Linked DNA regions of Homo sapiens: all the other regions are linked to region 1. Evidence: promoter capture Hi-C in 16 types of primary human blood cells and fetal thymus (Javierre and others, 2016). All regions are on one chromosome and are shown on one strand. Each heading gives the region's core, a stretch centred on a gene start or on the middle of the fragment in contact. The rest is flanking DNA. Distances are from core to core; before and after follow the strand shown. Region 1 holds the start of TEX30 (testis expressed 30). Region 2 has its middle 29 kb from the start of TPP2. Region 3 overlaps TPP2 (tripeptidyl peptidase 2).

Region 1 (4,735 bases), core at 598-3,097:
ATTCTGTGGTTAATACAGGGTTTGCTAAGCCATACATGTTTTGGAGCCCGCTATTTGATTGCCAGCGTTTCCTTTCCTATTCTCCCATTGCTGGAGGTTCATGTTTGTTTTTAAATAGCCTTAATGTAAGTTTAGTGAAACTTCATGAAGGAGTAAATTTAGATGCATGTAAACAACCACTATCTTAATTTAGAATGCTTCCCTATTTTTTTTTTTTTTGAGACAGGTTCTCGCTCCGGCGGACAGGCCGGAAAATTGAGTGGCGCAATCATAAGCTCACTGAATCCTCGAACTCCTGAGCTCAAGCGATCCTCTCGCCTCAGCCTCTTGAGTAGGTGGGACTACAGACGCTCACCACCACGCCCGCTTATTATTTTTAAATGTTTTTGTAGAGACGAGGGTCTCCCTATGTTTCGCAGGCTGGTCTTGAACTCCCGGGCTCAAGCGATACCCCCTGCCTTGGCCTCCCAAACCGTTGGGATCCCAAGGCGTTTGCCACCTCTCCCGGTCTGCTTTACTTCTTTTCAGACTTCACGATGCACAGTGTGTTCTTCACGGCAGCTGCACACATGCTGGTTTTCTTCAGAAACACGGAAAATGCCCCATAATGCAATCCCCAAGCAACCTGCTCTAGGTCATCTGGGTTTGTTTTTTTGAGACAGAGTCTTGCTCTGTCCCCCAGGCAGGAGTGCAGCGGCGCGATCTCGGCTCACTGCAGCCTCTGCCTCCCGGGTTCAAGAGATTCTCCAGCCTCAGCCTCCCGAGTAGCTGAGATTACAGGCGTCCGCCACCGCGCCCAGCTAATTTTAGTAGAGACGGGGTTTCACCATGTTGGCCAGGCTGGTTTTGAACTCCTGACCTCAGGTGATCCACCCGCCTCGGCCTCCCATGGTGCTGGGGTCAGGCGTGAGCCACCGTGCCAGGCCACTGTCGTCTGGGTTTTCATCTCTGGCTTCAGGTTCAGAGAGGGCAGGGTTTGAAGCCTGGCCCGGCCTCAGTGCCCTCAATGGCGATGGTGAAGATGACCGGCTAGAGGTGCTGCGCCCACGAAACGCCAGCTCTAGTGGCGTCCGGAGCGCCGGCTCCACCGGCTAGGCGGTCGGCGGAGTTCTAGGACGACAACTACTCACAAGGGCTGGGCGATCACCTCCCACGCCACGGGACGGAGACGCCACAGCCCCTTCAACTTTCAGTTACAAACGTTCGTGCCCTGTTACGTCCACAGCATTAAGCTGGCTGTCGTGGGGCAAACAAAAACGTTGAGTCCGAGTCTTACGGGGGGTCGGGTCAACAACCCCAGCAAACATGGAGAGAAAATTCAAAGCGGGTCTCACGGGCGTGCGGGGCTCGGCGGCGCTCGGGGCACGGGATCCGTTCTCTCCGCAAATGCGCGCTGCCGGGGCTGCGCCGCGGGCTGCCCCGGTCGACCCCTCTCAACTCCGAGGCTACTTCGAGCCAGTCACCCGGGACTGGCTGACGTGGTCCAGGTTGGCCCCGTCCGGCTCTCCCCGCCCGTACCAACCCCACATTCCGCCCTCCTACCCGGCAAAGCGGACGAAGCCCCCACCGGCTGGTGCCCGCGGGCACCGAACTTAGCGGAACGCCTCCCGGCTCGGACCAGACGCCCCTGAGGAGTGACGCCCGCGAGCCTCAAACGTCTCAGGCGGGCCTGCCGGGTGCTCTCCCCGTCTCCCAGGAAGCCGCCCGTCAGCCGGCGGCGCCAACCGCCACCGCCGCACTTACCCGGGAAGGCAAAAGTGGCCGCGGGCACCCAACCGCCGTCACTCCCTTCAGGGAGCTGACTAGCGCGCTCGAAGCGACCGCCTCGCCTGCCCCGCCACAGCGTTCGGCTACGACGCACGCGCGCGCAGGCCACGCCCCCCGGGTGCGCGGGCCGGGCCGCAGAGCACGCCGGGAGCGTGGGTCTCCCAGCCCGCCACATCCCAGGGCTGTACGCGCGGACTAGCGGAGCTAGGGGAAGGTGCCAGGGTGGCCGCCGCCTCAGTAGCACGCGGACGGCTGGAAAGTCAGCCCCCGTTTCCGCCTCACCCAGGATTGCTCCACTCGGGGCCTTTCCGCATCCCAGCCACCACTCCATTCCGAGGCGCGATCAGCTCTGACCAGTCTTCCTCACACCCATAGTCGATTCGTTACTCCCGTTAAGGTCAAACGCTGACAGAAACCAGCCGCTTCGCACACTTCTACATGGGGTCAAGCCCCCTGTTATCTTTGCGGGGATGATTGTAACAATCACTTAAATGGTCGCTTCGTACCATCTTGCCCCCGCCTGGGCCTTGTCGGCGACGCCGCAGCCACGTGGATGCTGTGGAAGCCTGTCCCCTGGATCTTCCAAAGGCTCCGCGCTCATTGCCACAGCCAGCGGCCGGCAGTGGCCTAGGCTGTTGCACGCGATCGGTCCCCCACATCTCCCCTCTCCATCTGGCTCCTTTCCCTGGAAGCCCAGGGCAGCCCACACTTCGCTGTCCTCACCCCCACTCACCAGGCGGGACCCCACGACGACCGGCTTTTGTCCTGGCTGCTCCCTCCCAGCGTGGGCCGCGTCTCCTCGGGGTCGACAGGGCGCGTGGTTTTCACAGCGAGGCCTCCCCTGATCACCTCCCCGCTCTTCCTGTCCTTCCCCGGTCACCTCACGAGCTATGGATGTATCTGTGTCTCCTCACTGCGCTATAAGCTCCCAGGTGAAGAAAGGGTTGCTTTTTGTAAATTTTTGTTTTAACCGTGAACCTCTTGTGTATGAATAATGCTCAGAAAAAAAAAAATTTCTTAAATGAATGAATCTTCCCCAAGCCCAGTGCAGTTGGCACCTGCCCTCTTTTCTGTCACGGTACATACAAGGAAATACATTCCACAAAACCACATAGTCGCTGTCATTTATCACAAGTGTTTCCCCAAATTACAAAGTCTTAATACTTCTTTGTCTCCTAATTTTTTAGCTGTGTTTTTAAAAAACATTTCTTTACATGCCATAAAATTCACTCATTTGAAGTGTACCATTCAATCATTTTCAGTAATTTTAAAACCATTTGCAACCATCACTATAATTTAAGAACATTTCCATTATCCCCCTGAAAAGTATTTGCACAGTTATAGTTGAGGTAGGAGATCAGCAGGACTTTCCAAGCACTGATCACCACCTGCTGAGCAAAACAGGATCTGGTCAGAACAGGATGCCCTAAAAAAACGGCCAAAACTGCCCTAAAGAAACAGGCCCAAGCCAGCTAAAACCAGGATGGTGACCAAAGTGACCTCTAGTGCCCTCACTGCTCATTATACACTAATTATAATACATGAACATGCTACAACACTTCCACCAGCACTCTGACAGTTTACGAATGCCATGGCAATGCCCAGACCTTACCTTATATGGTTTAAAAACGGAAGAATTCTCAGTTCCGGGGAACTCCCCACCCCTTTTCTAGAAAATTCGTGAATAACCCACCCCTTATTTAGCGTACGATGAAGGAGTAGGTATAAATATAGCTAGCCAGTGGCCGGGTGCCCTGGCGCATGCCTGTAATCCCAGCACTTTGGGAGACCAAGGCGGGTGGATCACCTGAGGTCAGGAGTTGGAGACCAGCCTGGCCAACACGGTGAAACCCGGCATCTACCAAAAACACAAAAATTACTCAGGCGTAGTGGCAGGCACCTGTAGTCCCAGCTACTCGGGAGCTGAGGCAGGAGAATTGCTTGAACCCTGGAGGCAGAGGTTGCAAAGCCGAGAAGAGCGCACCACTGCACTCCAGGCTGGGCAACAGAGCGAGACTCCGTCTCTCTCTCTCTCTCTCTCTATATATATATATATATACATACACACACACACATATACATATGTGTATATATACACACATATAATATATATCCGTACTATATATAGTATAAATACTATGTATACATATATAGTATAAATATTATATATAGTATTTATGTGTGTATGTATATACTATATACATATAGTCATATAGTATAAATACTATATACATATAGTCATATAGTATAAATACTATATATGTATATATGTGTATATATACACATATGTATATATAACATGTATATGTTTATATACGTATGTATATATTATATGTATGTATATATTATATATGTGTATATATGTGTGTATATACATATATATGTATATACACACATATGTATGTATATACATATATATGTATATGTAGATACATATATATGATATGTATGTATATACATATATATGTATATGTAGATACATATATATATATAGCTAGCCAGCAATCCATGAGTGTTACTCTGCCTGTGGGGTAGCCCTGCTCAGTTTACCAGAAGCAATTTTCCTGTGCTTTGTTGCTCTAATGTACTTGCTTTGCTTTCATTTTACTGTCAGTTTGCTCTTGAATCCTTTCCTGTGCAAAGTCAAGAACCCTCTCAGGCTGAGCTCCAATTTTGGGATTCACTGGCATTACAGCCATTCTCTGTTCCTACCCCTAACCCCGGGCAACCACTAACATACTTTCTGTCTCTCTGGATTTGCCTTTTCTGGACAGTTCATATAAATGGAGTCCTACACTGTATGGTCGTATGCCTCTAGCCTCTTGCACTTAGGATAATGTTTTCAAGGTTTATCCATGCTGTGACATGCATCAGAACTTTGCACCTTGTTACAACTCATATATTTTTATTGCCAAATAGTATTCAGCATTTTTGAGTATCCATTCACCAGTTGGTGGACATTTGAATT
Region 2 (4,735 bases), core at 608-3,107, 210 kb before region 1:
TGCCTGTTTCGTGAAAGGTTGAAGAGGCATGGTGTAGTGTTTTTGTGTGCAGGTATCCAAGTCAAAAAGACACGCGTCTTAAGCTCAATCTTTCTGAGCCTCCTCATGAAGTTCCTAATACATCTTACATAATTATTGTGGAAAAAAGTAAAAGGCACAATATATGGAAAAGTTTACCATACTATTAGACTCATAGTTGGCCTTCAATAAATATCATTTTTTTAGGTTTACAGTAGAAGCTTAGATTACTAAATATAAACAAAAAGTTAAAGTTAGAACCAAAGACATTTTAATTTAGAAAAGACTTTTAAGACCATGGGGGAAGTAGAATACAAATGTAGAAGCCATAAGGGTGCTGAAGACATGGCGACGTGCCACCAAGATCCCACATCAGTGACCCATAGCCCAGCAGCTGCCTTCAGGGTCAGCCCCTTCAGCAGCAGTTATCACTACAGGCAAAGGAGCCAGGTCAGAGAGAATGTGCGGAAACCAGAGGGAGCAGTCACAGTCACAATAGAAGAGGGACAACCAACAAGAGCCTTTGGTGGGAGGATGAAGCCAACCACAGATACCCCGAAAGGGTGAAGCTATGGAAATAAATACCCTGGCCTTCCTGTCTTATCTCCATCCCATCTCTGCCAGGGCCTCCCATTTACTAGGAGCTAGGATGGAAGGAAACCCATTGACGAGAAAAGTCATTCTCTCAGAGCACAGAGAAGGATGAAGAAGGACAGAAAGTGGACCTGGAGTGGTAAATGGAAAATATCCAGTGCATCTTGGTCCCTCGGTTTAAAAGTAGTCTTTTTTTCACCTACGCCCTTATTTTCCCTAGCCCCCAGCATGACTGTGATGTCCCACTCTGGTTGACCTGACAATGAGCTGGCTTAAGCAAGTAGCATAAACATCCTCTTCTCCCCGTGGAAGAGCCTTTCCCAATCTCATCTTCCCATAGTTCTGGTGGCCTCATTCCCCCAGGTCCCCAAAGTCACCAGGTTCTGAGCAGCTTGTTTCCTCAGAAAACTCCTATCTTCAGTTGGCACCCAAATCGAGACTGTCTGGTTTTCAAACTGATGCTGTGTTCCCTACTGATGCGTTAACTCTTGCACCATAAGAAAGGGGACTCCACTGAAATTCAACCCCTGTTTTGTGTCCAGCAGACTTGAGAACATTTCTCTCCAGATAAAGCAGGTGGGGAGGGGGATCCATGACTTCTCTTCATGACTCTGCCTTGTTTTTCCTTTCTCTTTAAAGCCTACTTCACAGTACTTGGCATTAATCCCTGACATGTGACCCTGGTGCCCTGTGTGGGCCACCATCCAGCCCAGCAGGGAAGAACACAAAAAACAGCCACTTTGCAAGCTGTAGGTCACCTTACTGTAAATGTCAAAAAGAAAGTAGGCTCATGTCCTCCTTAATCTCTACACTTCACGGGTATACATAAAGCAAATACAAAGGGTAGTGAATATGCCTCCTTACAAAAGAGACTTTTTGTAACAGATGTTGAAAGAAAATTTAGAATACTAATTTCTGTAATTCTTAACTGAAAATTGTAAACAATATGTATATGTCATAATTAACATGAAAGTAAATCTCATTCAATTTAGCAAATATCCTTTTAGCTCCTATTATGCACTTTGAGTTTTGGTAAGAACAAGAGAAACAAAAGATGGGGCTGAGAATTTAATGAAAATAAAATTGGCATCATTCATATGACAATAATAGTAATAACAAAAATTAACTTTCTACATCATGACCATATGGACTGATACTATTCCTGTAGCCAAAAATCTATGATGCCTCTTCCCAGTGCTTCCCCTTCCTTCGAGTAGCTGGCCTGCTAGCCCCATGGCTAGAATGGCAGCTCCATTCTCTCACTGACCCCAAATCTCTGGCCACAGTTGATTTATACAGGCTTGACTTCCTGAGCTAAGCTGTTTCAATGGGATTTCCTTGGAATTTTTGACCATCTGACCCAGAAATCCAAATTAACCCCTCTCTGGCATTAAAATTAAAAAAAAAGACTTTTGAATTGATTATGGAGAAAGAAAAGGGCAGTCTTTTATTAGTGAAACCATGACATGTAAAAGTCAAGAATTCACTGGACACGTGTCCCGTCATGTGCAGAAAGCGCATGAAATAAGGAGGAAGGAAGCCCACCTACTGAGTGGACACATAGAGTCAAGACCTGGGCAAAAGGCCCTGGTGATACTTGCTTCGCTGGTTCCATCAGTTCTCTGACTCTGCTCTATCTCTTCCCTGATAGAGTTTTGGAAGGTCAATACTTCCTAAGCTCTGAGGATACCCTCTGAGGCTGACAGCTCTCACCTAATCAGGTGAAAGCCGCTGCATCTTTAATAAATCTCCTAAGTAACACAGCCTTGTTGCACACACTTCAGTAAACAGAGGCATGTCCTGAGGTGTCTTGCCATAATGGTGACACCCCCAAGGTGGCAGGGAAATCAGGAATGGTCCGAGGCACCACTGGCCGCAATAGCTGCTCATGCCGTAGTGCAGCTCCTCCAGCACACTGACCTCCCTCTCCCAGCTTCTTCCACAGGCTCCAGTGCTGCTTCCCCTTGTCTGGGAGGCACTCTCTCTCCCCCACCGATGACTGCTTTCTAGCCCTGAGCACTTACTTTCTGCTGTCCATGGTCCCCACATCTCAACCCTCATCAGTATGACCACTCACCTGGTGTTGAGAGAACACAGCTGCCCAGTGGAGGGAATTGTAACTGCCCTAAATCCAGCAGAAACACAAAAAGGCATGAAATCACCTACCAAATTATGAAATGTGAGTTCAGTTTTATGTCAGTGTATAAAAGTAATAAATATTCTCATGATGGCAAACAAGATTGGAGGACTACCAGGGCTGTCTTGGAGAAAGACCTTCTACTATGAAGATATCTATTATTCCGACACTGCTAATACTTTAGTCACCATGTATACCTATAATGTCACCGGGTTCATGCACATTCTTCTTGTCACATCAGCATACACTCTCATCTATCACTAAACTCCAGCATCACTGCTATCAATTAAGGAGTGAATTCTAGTGTGTCACTAAAGCATTAAAACGTGACTTGTGGCTGGGTGTGGTGGCTCATGCCTGTAATCCCAGCACTTTGGGAGGCCGAGGCAGGTAGATCACTTGAGGCCAGGAGTTCGAGACCAACCTAGCCAACATGGTGAAATCCTGTCTCTACTAAAAATACAAAATTTAGCTGGGCGTGGTGCCACACACCTGTAATCCCAGCTACTCAGGAGGCTAAGGCATGAGAATCTCTTGAACCCAGGAGGCGGAGGCTGCAGTGAGCCAAGATCATGCCACTACACTCCAGCCTGGGCAACAGAGAGAGACTCCATCTCAATAAAATAAAATAATTAAAAAAAAACATAACTTGTTAATGCACCCATATCATAGAAGTTGTAGCTATCCTAACTAAATAAGTGATTTCATTACTTTAGGGAGGGATGAGAAGCTTAAATTATTATTGTTTTGAAGTAAACTTTCATCTTATTGTTTAAAATCACCTATGAAAGTCCTCCTTTTGGCTTAAATTTTGTTAAATGGCAATTTTTGGCTTAGGATGACAAGTGATTTTTCTACTAAACTAATATATCCATGTGTCATTATGATTTTTATCTCAGGAGTCTTTCCAAACATTAAGAAACTCTTCTTTATGATCACCTTATATTATAATTAAAACAGTTACTGGCCGGGCACAGTGACTCACACCTGTAATCCCAGCACTTTAGGAGGCCGAGGCGGGTGGATCACCTGAGGTCAGGAGTTCAAGACCAGCCTGGGCAACATGGTGAAACTCCATCTCTACTAAAAATACAAAAATTAGCTGGGTTCAGTGGCACGTGCCTGTAATCCCAGCTACTTGGGAGGCTAAGGCAGGAGAATCGCTTGAGCCCGGGAGGCGGAGGTTGCAGTGAGCCGAGATTGTGCCATTGCACTTCAGCCTGGGCGACAGAGTGAGACTCTGTCTAAGAAAAAAAAAAACTGTTATCATTTCTTACTAGCAGAAACTTGTCCTTACCTTAGCATTTAGGTCAAATGCAATGTGTAAAGTCCCTGGATTATCCAGAAATAGATTATAAATGAAATCACTTCTCTAAAAGAGAAAAAGCAAGAAACATCTACTTTGGAGTGTACACTGCTGCAATAAGCTGATTTAATGCCAAAGTGGAGACATTTTTAGCATGCTTTCCCAACTGAGGCCAAACAGATGCCTTCTCATTTGAGGGGGTGTCACAGGGAATCGTTTGAGCAGTCATCACATATGTATGCTCAACAGAATTCAGCAAAAACAATTGGGAAATTGCAGTCTGGTAAGAAATTTATGATTAGCTCATTTCTTTAGGTATATTCATACTAGGAAAGACAGGACTGCTTGCTTGTTTTCACTGAATTTCCATTTCTCCAGCCAGAATGGTGAGCTGTAAAGATGACATTGATAATGAAAGTCCTAGAAACCATTAACCATAAACATTTATGGAGTACCTATTCTGCCCAAGGCAGTTTGCTCAGAAAATCTGAGAATCTACTGTATCAAAGATGTTTTAACAACATGCAGCAGCTATTACTACAGTCCATGCCTTGCCTAATAGCAAAGAAGACAGTCTTTACTGTGCTGACATCTGCCCTGGAAGGCATGTCTCTGAGTATGGCTGCACTCCTTAATTCTCAACTAAGGACCTCTGCATCCTGGGGAATTCAGTTAAATGG
Region 3 (4,735 bases), core at 857-3,356, 150 kb before region 1:
TGACACTAAACCTGACTTTTATCTGATTTAAATAAACTTACTTCATTAATAATTTATTAGTATGTTGACCATCCGTATATTTGGAAATGTTTCCTCATTTGTTAATTGAGATAGTGGTGCTTACAGGGCTTTGTGAAAATTAAATTTGATGTTTCTAGATATAGTAAGCAATCAATGTACGCTGTTGCTGCTGCTGTTTCTATTACTAAAACTAATAATAATAATGCGATTTATACCAAGTTACCCATCATGTACGTTTTTTAGTTTCTTTTTTAGTGCCTTATATACTGCATATGTGCTTCTTGGAGTTGATTAGTCTGCCTTCTTGAGTTACTATCTGCATGAAAACAGGAAGACATTGTTAATACAGATATTTAGCCATATGTGTGCTTTAGGATTTCTGCAAAAAAAAAACAAACAAACAGGGACTATTTCTTAAACTTGTAGTCAAGAATTACTTGTAGTCTGCGTCCCTGCTTATACACAAAGAATTGCATCACAAGGTGGGGCACACACAGATCATGCCATGACTGCTTCCTCACTGCTCTCACAATTGTTCACCTTCACAGTGCACCCTTCTTAAAGGAGGGTTCTCCTCCCACGTGTGCAGGTACTAACTCATCTTTCATCAAAGGTGTATGCAATGTTAAGTTGAATGAGAAATTTCTGCTCAATTTGGGGATGATGGTGTTAATAAAATAACTGCACATAACTCTTTCAATCTAGATATTAAATATTAATGCACTTTTGTGTGTATTCATACATGTTGTTTTGTTGTGTGCATATGCATACACGTTTTGAAAAATTATTTTCCAGAGGCTTTATACAGAATAATAAACCTTGATACATCCACCATCTGGGGTAACATGATACAGTCACACTCAGTGATAAGCCTTAGGTGCGTTTTAGTGTGGGAAAGGAGGCAAGGTTAAATTCAAGGAAAATGCTAAATACGAAACAGAGTATATTTAGGAAAGTATATACTACAAAAGAACTTAAAGAAATACTAAAATATTAGCAGGGATTGAGTAGTGAGGCAATAGGTGGTTTCATTTAAAGTGTTTGCTCTAGGTTCTGAAAACACTGCAGATTACTTTGTCTTAGGAAAAGGAATCCGGAGTCAGGATGTCCAGGGTACCAGTGTGTGTTTCCACAAGATTTCCTTGGTCTTCAAGGTGCTTGATAAAGTGACTCACTTGTAGCAGTTTGTTGACAACTATTCTAAGGGTTTTGTTTAGAACTTTTGAGTTAGAAATGAAATTTAATCTAACATTAAGTGAAATAAAATCTGAAATCTCAGAATAACATTTTAGAACATTTTATTATAATAAATGAATATAGCATAATTATACTTTCAGGTGGTACTAGATATAATGTAACTTTTTTGCATAATACAGTATATCCTATAGGGCTTTGATCTCAGAGATCCAAAATTTTTTGAAGAGAACCTTGTAGATCCCAGGGTACATAAGGTTAATCCAGTCCTGTCTGCAGATGTTCTCATTTCACATTTCAAAAATGCCAACCATTTCTGAAGGGAGGTAAAGTGACCTATTCTTTAAGTACCGTGGGTTTTTTGTTTTGTTTTGTTTGATGACGAATGTCCAGTCTGTGCTCTCCCTGCCACATTTCTGCTAATTGTTTAGCGCGTATCTCTGCACTTAACGGGTGGCCTCAGATGACTCTGTTCTGAGCATCTGTCAGGACGCAGAGCCTCAGACTCATTGTCACTCCAAATGGAACAAAAACTGGTTGAGAGAAACAGTGTTTACAGAGGATTACATAAAGGAGAAGCTATTAGTTGATTTCTTTACAGTGGATTTTGACCTTGCTTATGTCATGTTTCCTTTTAGATTCTTGATGAAAGCTCTAGATTCTTTCCACAGAAAATTGAGAGATGTGTGAAAATGTCGAGAAATACATAAAACAAAAGCCTTTTCTCTCATCCTCCCCACTTACATGTACCCTGCTCTGTGTATGAGCCTCATTTTGATATCCTTTCTCTGTATTCTAGCTGCTACTTGAATTCAGTCAACTAGACCTTCAGAAAGTTATAACCTTGCACCACATTCATACTTGTCCTCTGTCGTGTTATTTAGAGAAGTCAGTAATAATTTATGTTTTGATGTGTTGGTTGTATTGTTGAGTCATTCCAATGATGGTGGTTATAAGAAACTGACCTGTGGAATGTGTCACTGTATTTGCTGTGAGAATGTTGTTAAGGATGATGATTTCGTTAATTCCTTAATCATGTGGCAGATGTTTATTGAGTACCTTCTTTGTACCAGGTTGACACCATAGAAGCTACTCCATGGACTCTAGATTCCATGGAAGCAAGTGTTGGGAACGTCTGAACCAGTCTAGGAAGAATCGAGAAAGATTTCCCAAAAGTATTAATAACATCTTACATTGAGACTTGAAGGATCATCACAGTAAACTAAGCAGAGAGGTAGAAAGGGTGGGGGAAAGATCCAGAGGATGTTGGAGGAACTGTGAGAAGTTTGGTGTGGCCACAGAGGATATGATGGGAGCAGGAGGTGAGGGAGGTGAGCAGATGATTATTAGGGGCATTGCTCTGGAGTTTCAATGTTAAGAGCCGTTGGAAGACATGGAAGGTTTTCAGCAGGAGTCAAATGTAGGGGCAGAGCAGGCCATCAGCTCATCAGGCAACAGCGGTAAGGAAGAGACAGTGGAAATAGGCGGACACATTATGGAGATGGGACTGTGCGGTTAGATGGGCTGGGGGAAGAACAGAGGGAGGACTTTGTAGATGACTTCCAGGATGGATGCTGGCCGATTGCATAAATTTTGGAGACAAGTGCTACTTCTGTAGCATGTGGAAGATTTGGTGACATGCATTTTACCCACTAATCTCAAGCCTGATTCTGTTTAATATGTGACTTGTTTGCTCTTTGCTTCATTTTCTCCATAAGTGTTTAGTTTCCTATACCTTCGTATATTCTATTATTTGAAATTACATCAGTCATATTAGGGCAATGCATAAAAACAAATTTTTAAGAATCCTTTTTTCCAAAGTGTTGTAATTTGTTAATGAAATATGCTTCAGTATTTATGATAAATCATCTCTCTGTGCTCTACCAGTAGGCTTCTATTAATTTACTTGGCAATTTTGACTGACTTGCATAGCTTGTTAAAATACAGTTCTTGCATTTAAAACATACTTAGAGCTAAAAACATAATATTGAACTTTTAATGATGTTCATTTCATTTATGACTTTTTGAATATTAAGTGTATTTTGTTTTAATCAGGCTATCTTCTAAAGTGTTCGGAATATAATTTAAAAACTATTTTAGTTAGTAAAATGGAAAAAACATGAAGGAAGACAACCATAAAGTAATGTAGAAAATGCCTTCTGTGAGAAATAAATTTAAGTCTGTTATAACTATAGGACTGAAGCTCAGTAAAATTCACCTAGTTTCAAAGAGCTTGTGTAAGCCGTTAGATTCTTGAAGCCATTACTAAAAGAAGCAGCTGGAAGTTAGACCTAGGCCATGTGTCTGAACTATCCTAAACTGCTCTAAAACTCTAAGCCAAGTTTTAGCTGTAATTCTTAAGAGTCCAGGTGGTTTTTAACCTAGAGTTTTGTGAAGGAGGGTATTTTTAAAGCACTTTGTGCATGATTTAAGAACTGGTTGCTGTAAGCTATCTTACCTAATCCTTACTGCCCACTCTAAGAAACAGGCTAAACCAGGCAGTCATTATATTTATATTTGTTGTGGTAGAGGTAGTAGTATAGTAAAATAGTGGAGAGACTATGTTACATGATTTTTAGAAAGGTAAGAAAATAAATTTTACTGTCTCCATTTCTTTTTAATTAATAGAGCCTGCATTGATTCTAATGAAGATGGGGACTTGAGTAAATCTACCGTGTTGAGAAACTACAAAGAAGCCCAAGAATATGGCTCTTTTGGCACAGCTGAGATGTTGAATTACTCCGTTAATATATACGATGATGGAAACCTGCTCTCCATTGTGACCAGTGGAGGTATCCCATTTCAGATTGACCAATGAGATATAGATTTATGAGGTGATAAAGTGGTACGTTGCGATAGCTCACAGCAACCTTCTAGAGAATTTTAAGCTAGAGATCGTAGCTAAAGGACTAGGTCCAGAATCATAAAGGTGATTTGATTTACCTGCAAGATGTTGTTTTTTAAGGTCATAACCATGTGGGATCCAGTCCAAGAATATAAAAGCATGTTCCAACATCAGAAAATCCATCAATAGGCTGGGTGCAGTGGCTCATGCCTGTGATCCTAGCACCTTGGGAGGCCGAGGTGTGTGGATCACCTGAGGCTGGGAGTTTGAGACCAGCCTGACCAACATGGAGAAACCCCATCTCTACTAAAAATATAGAATTAGCTGTGCGTGGTGGCACATGCCTGTAATCCCAGCTACTCGGGAGGCTGAGGCAGGAGAATCGTTTGAACCTAGGAGGCGGAGGTTGCAGTGAGCCGAGATCGTGCCATTGCACTCCAGCCTGGGCAACAAGAGCGAAACTCCATCTCAAAAAAAATCCATCAATAGAATTTATCTCATGAACAGCAATTTTGCCTCGAAATCTTAACTCTTGAGAAATTCACCCATGAGTACAGAGAATCAGATAAAAGAATCCTCACTACGGCACTCTGTGTGATTTCAAAAAAGTTGGAAACTAAATACCTATTAACAAAAAAATATATTTTTTAAACAACTGTGTGTTATTCTTACTGT

Evidence for each region. The method cuts DNA at HindIII sites, captures the fragments that hold promoters and counts their contacts. A CHiCAGO score of 5 or more calls a contact.
Region 2: a fragment that was not itself captured here is called in contact with the fragment with the promoter of TEX30 in region 1 in 2 of 17 cell types (non-activated CD4 T cells and total CD4 T cells); the score reaches 9.3 in non-activated CD4 T cells.
Region 3: a fragment that was not itself captured here is called in contact with the fragment with the promoter of TEX30 in region 1 in 9 of 17 cell types (monocytes, fetal thymus, non-activated CD4 T cells and 6 more); the score reaches 10.0 in monocytes.

What each region holds. Positions count from the first base shown.
Region 1 is chr13:102,771,939-102,776,673 of GRCh38, forward strand. TEX30 (testis expressed 30) reads right to left here and starts at 1,848. Exons shown (of 6, transcript NM_138779.5): 1 at 1,744-1,848. RefSeq lists enhancers at 1,603-2,280, 2,281-2,958 and a silencer at 1,681-2,020. The HindIII fragment of the contact is 5,388 bases long and covers 1-4,735 here.
Region 2 is chr13:102,565,420-102,570,154 of GRCh38, forward strand. No RefSeq gene overlaps it. Among named protein-coding and RNA genes, the nearest start is that of TPP2, 29 kb to the right of the region's middle. The HindIII fragment of the contact is 3,240 bases long and covers 238-3,477 here.
Region 3 is chr13:102,619,034-102,623,768 of GRCh38, forward strand. TPP2 (tripeptidyl peptidase 2) reads left to right here. Exons shown (of 30, transcript NM_001330588.2): 6 at 3,844-4,007. Among named protein-coding and RNA genes, the nearest start is that of TPP2, 24 kb to the left of the region's middle. The HindIII fragment of the contact is 6,535 bases long and covers 1-4,735 here.